Regions from separate parts of the Homo sapiens genome. Here region 1 is linked to region 2. The links are contacts of gene promoters, found by promoter capture Hi-C in human tissues and cell types (Jung and others, 2019). All regions are on one chromosome and are shown on one strand. Each heading gives the region's core, a stretch centred on a gene start or on the middle of the fragment in contact. The rest is flanking DNA. Distances are from core to core; before and after follow the strand shown.

Region 1 (2,700 bases), core at 74-2,573, 450 kb after region 2:
TTGAGCCACCTCGCCCGGCCCTCAAATGACATCTTAAGGCCGGGTATAGCAGCTTACACCTATAATCCCAGAACTCTGGGGGGCTGAGGCAGGTGGATCACTTGAGCCCAGGAGTTCAAGACCAGCCTAGGCAACATGGTGAAATCTTGTCTCTACAAAAAATACAAAAATTCACTGGGCATGGTGGCATGCGCCTGTAGTACCACCTACTTGGGAGGCTGAGGTGGGAGGATCACCTGAGCCCGTGAGGTTGAGGCTGCAGTGAGCTGTGATTGCACCACTGCACTCTAGCCTAGGTGACAGAGAGAGACTCTGTTGAAAGGAAGAGAGAGAGAGAGAGAGGCAGAGAGAGAGAAAGAAAGAACAAAAAGAAAAGAAAGAGAGAGAAAGAAAATTTACAAAAAAACTCAATTTCTGTTGCAGGAAGAGGCTTAGAGATTGCCTCCTCCCACTCTTTCATTTTATGAAGCAGAAAAATGAGGGCCACACATGGCATCAGCTATTCCCGTTTCTTGATGGACAGACTGAGCTGGAACTGGCTTGGTCCATCACCCCAGGGAGTAATGGCTGGCTTAACAGCCCACAGCAAATTCTGTGGTTCACTGGACCAAGCAGCAGGTTCCAGGACAGCTGTGGGGTCAGTTGGGGCCATCTTTGGACTCAGCCTGAGTGTCAGCTGTCTCATGCCCACATCCTGGCACTCACAGGAGCCAGTAAAACTCTCTCCAGGGCAGTGGCTGCGACCCTGTCTCCTAAACTCAGAAAACCAGGTCCTAACTTTGGGGACTTGCGGGGAAGGGTGGGAGGGGGTCGGGGGATAAAAGACTACAAATAGAGTGCAGCGTATAGTGCTTGGGTGATGGTTGCACCCAAATCTCACAAATCACCACGAAAGAACTTACTCATGTGACCAAATAGCACCCGTACCCCAATAACCTATGGGAACATTCAAAAGAAAAAGAAAACCGTGTCCTAGTCTCCTCAGCCAGTGGGGCGGTGTGTGGTGGGTGGTCTGCACTTGGTCCCAGAGAGGTCAATGAGACCCAGACTTGCCTGTGAAAGAAACGGAGTGGTGGCGGGGCCCGGGAAAAACCCCTGCGTTCACTCGTTCACTCGGCGCCTGCTGTGTGGCAGGCAGCCCCCCTGCTGGGCTCGCTCAGTCCTCGGTACCATCCTGGGAGCAGGCATTAGCCCCCTTTTGCAGATGAGCCTCCGAAAAGGTGAAGAACTTGACCAAGGGTCAAACTGAGCAAATGGCAGAGTCAGGCCCCTACCCCGGCTGACCACCCAATGCCCAGTGGCTGCAGCGTTCCCGTTACACAGCACGATAGCTCTGCAACACACATAAGCATGCATTAAACCAGAGATGCGCCATCACTCCCACTTCTGGAAGCTGATCTCATAGCACAGCAAGAGACGAGCAAGAAGGATGTTCTAACAAGTGTGTTGAGGGGTCACAGGGTGGGCCTTTCTCACTCCAAGGCTCTGGGACTCTTGGAGCTCTGGTAGGAGCAGGGGAGACCAACCCTACCTCGGATGCAGGGGCAGCATCCGATGACCCTGATAATGACCACAAGAAAGAGGCAGCACCTCTAGGGCAGGAAAGTGCTGGGGGTCAGAGGCATGGGTGCCATTCCAGGCTGAGCCAGGCTGGCTGTGTGAGCCTGCGTGAGTCACTTAACCTCTGAACCTAGTGCTTCACGTGCAAAAGAGGGAAGCTTCCCTCATCCTCCTCCAGCCGTCACCCGCTGCCTTCCTTCTCTCTGCAGCAAAATGGCTCCGAAGCGTTGTCTACACTTCTTTTCTCTGATTCTTTATTTAAATTTGCACTTATTAGGCTGAGCGCAGTGGCTCATGCCTGTAATCCCAGCACTTTGGGAGGCCGAAGCGAGCAGATCACTTGAGGTTAGGAGTTCAAGACCAGCCTGGCCAACATGGTGAAACCCTGTCTCTACTAAAACACAAAAATTCGCTGGGCATGGTGGCAGGCACCTGTAATCGCAGCTACTCAGGAGGCTGAGGCAGGAGAATCACTTGAACCCGGGAGGCAGAGGTTGCAGTGAGCCGAGATCGTGCCACTGCACTCCAGCCTGGGCCACAGAGCAAGACTCTGTCTCAAAAATAATAAATAAATAAATAAATAAATAAATCTTCACTTATAAATTACTCCCTAAATAAAAATAACACGTTATATACATATATATACCCATCTCAGCCTCCCAAAGTGCTGAGATTACAGGTGTGAGCCATCGTGCTTTGCCATAACGTGGTTTTTTTAATGTTTTATTTTAAAAATGTTTTTATAACTTTTATCTATTTATTTATTTTTTGAGATGAAGTCCCGCTCTGTTGCCCAGGCTGGAGTGCAGTGGCACCATCTCAGCTCACTGCAAGCTCTACCTCCTGGGTTCAAGCGATTCTCCGGCCTCAGCCTCCCAAGTAGCTGGGATTGCAGGCATGTGCCACCGCACCTGGTTAATTTTTCTATTTTTAGTAGAGACAAATTTTTGCCATGTTGGCCAGGCTGGTCTCAAATCCCTGACCTCAGGTGATCCGCCCGCCTCGGCCTCCCAAAGTGCTGGGTTTACAGGCGTGAGCCACCGCGCCTGGACAAAATTTTTTTATACCTTTTAAATTCCAGACCCACCACCAGGTTGAATCCTCCGGGCTGACTGTGCAGACCCCCCACTATGCCCCCTA
Region 2 (2,955 bases), core at 1-2,500:
ATGGCTAAATTTCTGAAGTAAAAGCTATAGGATCTTTGTGTGTGTGTATATATTTAAAAGGCCTTTATAATTTCTATAATTTTATGTTTAATTGGCAATTAAATCTGTTTTAATTTCCCTCCAGCACACCAGACTTTTTCTCTCCATACGTTATGATGTAAATTTTGCTATTCGATTTTCACCTCAGTTTCCTTAAAATGCAAATTCAAGGCTATTTAGCTGACAACCGCTTAGAGTAGTAAAACAGGTTATCAAGAATTCGAAGGTGTGGCTGGGCACGGTGGCTCACGTCTGTAATCCTAGCATTTGGGAGGCTGAGCCGCAAAGATCTCTTGAGGTCAGGAGTTCAAAACCATCTTGGCCAACATGTTGAAACCCCGTCTCTACTAAAAATACAAAAAAAATTAGCCAGATGTGGTGGCAGGTGCCTATAATCCCAGCTACTCAGGAAGCTGAGGCAGGAGAATCACTTGAAGCCAGGAGGCAGAGTTTGCAGTGAGTCGAGATCAAGCCATTGCACTCCAGCCTGGGCAACAGAGTGAGACTCTGTCTCAAAAAAAAAAAAAAAAAAAGTAAAAAAGAATTTGAAGGTGTAAGAAAAAAGCTCTTTATGAATCTATAAGATGAACTTCTTTCAGCATACCTAATACATCTGTGTATTTATGTGTTGTTGTGTACACAGTGTTTTGCTACTGAAAATATATAAAAGAGCTCTAATTAATTGGCTTAAGAAAATAAAAGCACTTGGCTGGGTGCAGTGGCTCATGCCTGTACTCCCAGCACTTTGGGAGGCTGAGGTAGGTAGATCACCTGAGGTCAGGAGTTTGAGACTAGCCTGGCCAACATGGTGAAACCCCATCTCTACTAAAAATACAAAAATTAGCCCGACGTGGTGGTGCGCGCCTATAATCCCAGCTACTCCAGAGGCTGAGGCAGGAGAATTGTTGGATCCCGGGAGGAAGAGGTTTCATTGAGCTGAGATCTCATTACTGTACACTCCAGCCTGGGTGACAGAGCAAGACTCCATCTCAAAAAAAAAAAAAGAAGCTAGTGATTCCATATCTTCAAATCAAATTTCAGTGGAGTGTTTACCGGGCAAGGAAGGCAGGGGGGTCAGCTTGCTGACAGCCTCAACCTGCCAGCCCTCAGCCTGCACATTTGTGATCACCTGGTCACACACCTGGGCAGGAGGCTGCCCCTCCTCCCTGGTTTGAGGAAGCAGGAAAAGGTACCCGCGAGAGACAGCCAGCAGTTCTGTGGAGCAGCGGTGGCCGGCTAGGATGGGCTGTCTCTGGGGTCTGGCTCTGCCCCTTTTCTTCTTCTGCTGGGAGGTTGGGGTCTCTGGGAGCTCTGCAGGTAAGGAGGCCTAGAAGGGCCTGGTGGGCCTCTCCCCTAGTAGGGCTCTGGGAGTGAATTTCAGTATGAGCCACCCTTCATGGGCAAGGGCAGGCTCTCTCGGGTTGATTATAATGAACCACAGTGCTACTTGTGAAGTGCTATTATTGTTGATAAAGAGTGTGCAAATGACAGTGTGAGTGTAAGCGTGCATGGCGCTGCAGTACACACTAATCAACCATGACGATGTGTGTGAGTGTAAGCGTGCCTGGCGCTGCAGTACACGCTAATCAACCATGACGCTGCCATCGTAAGGGATGGCTGAGAGTTTGTCTTTATGAACGTGGGACAGTAAGTGGGGCACGGAGCGGGGGTGCAGGGAGGTGCCAGCTGGTGATCATTGTGCAGAAAGCTGAAGAATGTGGCTTAACAAGATTCTGACTCCTCCCAGTTTATTACCTAGCATGGATTTCCTTCAAAATACAGATTTCGTGTGAAAAGTCCAACTGCCACAAACTGCTTGGGAAGGGTGGATGCTGACAGGCAGGGCTTTTGTGAAAGACGGGAATGAACCCTGACCTGTCGCTAATAGGAGTTGTGCCAAACTCATCACATACATTAAAAAATAGAAAAGGATTTATTTTTTTTTTAGTTCTATGCTCCCTCTAAACCTCGAGTGGAGAGGCCGGGCGTGGTGGCTCACACCTGTAATCCCAGCATTTTGGGAGGCTGAGGTGGGTGGATCACCTGAGGTCAGGAGTTCGAGACCAGCCTGACCAACATGGAGAAACCCCGTCTCTACTAAAAATACAAAATTAGCCGGGGGTGGTAGCAGGTGCCTGTAATCCCAGCTACTCGGGAGGCTGAGGCAGGAGAATTGCTTGAACCTGGGAGGTGGAGTTTGCAGTGAGCTGAGATCGCACCCTTGCGCTCTGGCCTGGGCAACAAAAGTGAAACTATGTTTCAAAAAAAAAAAAGCTGCAGTGGAGAGTCTGGAGTTCCCATCCCCACCACTCACAGCCTCCCCCATCATCAGCGTCCCCCACCAGAGTGGCACATTTGATAGGACTGAGGAACCTACTTTGATGCATCATTATCATACATTGTATTTTTAATCCTCACAACGGCCCTGCAAGATCGGCCCTGTTTTTACCACCCCCCACCTCCACTGCTTTAAGGGTGAGGCCACTGTGCTTCTGGGCATCCAGTAACAACTCCTCGGAGCCAGAATCTGACTCCTCACAGGCCTGAGCACTGCACCCCGTGGCCTCCTGCCTGTGCTCACCGTGGCCTGGTCTGCGCTGCACGTGTCCCGTTAGCTCCACCTTACAGGTGCGGAAATGCAGGCTTGGAGCTGAGAGACTTGGCCAGGGTCACAGGGCAGAGAGCAGATTCTCCAACTCAGGGTCCCAAGTCCACACGCTTTCCTCTCCACCAGATTTGAAGATTGTACCAGGAGAGCCGCAGTGTTCCAGAGCTACTGAGGGGCTGGGCTGGGATTTGCTGTATTCGAGAAGACCCCCTTGGACCCGAGAGGCTGTGGGCTTGGGGAGCATGAGGAGGTTTCACAGCAGAAAGGACACCCCGGGGCTCCTGGATAAGCCAGAAAATGTGCCAGGG

The links. Contacts are between HindIII fragments. The study calls those that stand out against the background at their distance.
Region 1: a contact is called between a fragment that was not itself captured here and the fragment with the promoter of MUC20 in region 2, in 1 of the 25 tissues and cell types used here (IMR-90 fibroblasts).

Annotation. Positions count from the first base shown.
Region 1 is chr3:196,174,242-196,176,941 of GRCh38, forward strand. No RefSeq gene overlaps it. Among named protein-coding and RNA genes, the nearest start is that of LINC00885, 33 kb to the left of the region's middle. The HindIII fragment of the contact is 4,018 bases long and covers 1-2,700 here.
Region 2 is chr3:195,719,728-195,722,682 of GRCh38, forward strand. It overlaps MUC20 (mucin 20, cell surface associated), which reads left to right and starts at 1,251. Exons shown (of 4, transcript NM_001282506.2): 1 at 1,251-1,356. The coding sequence starts at 1,281. The HindIII fragment of the contact is 11,607 bases long and covers 1-2,955 here.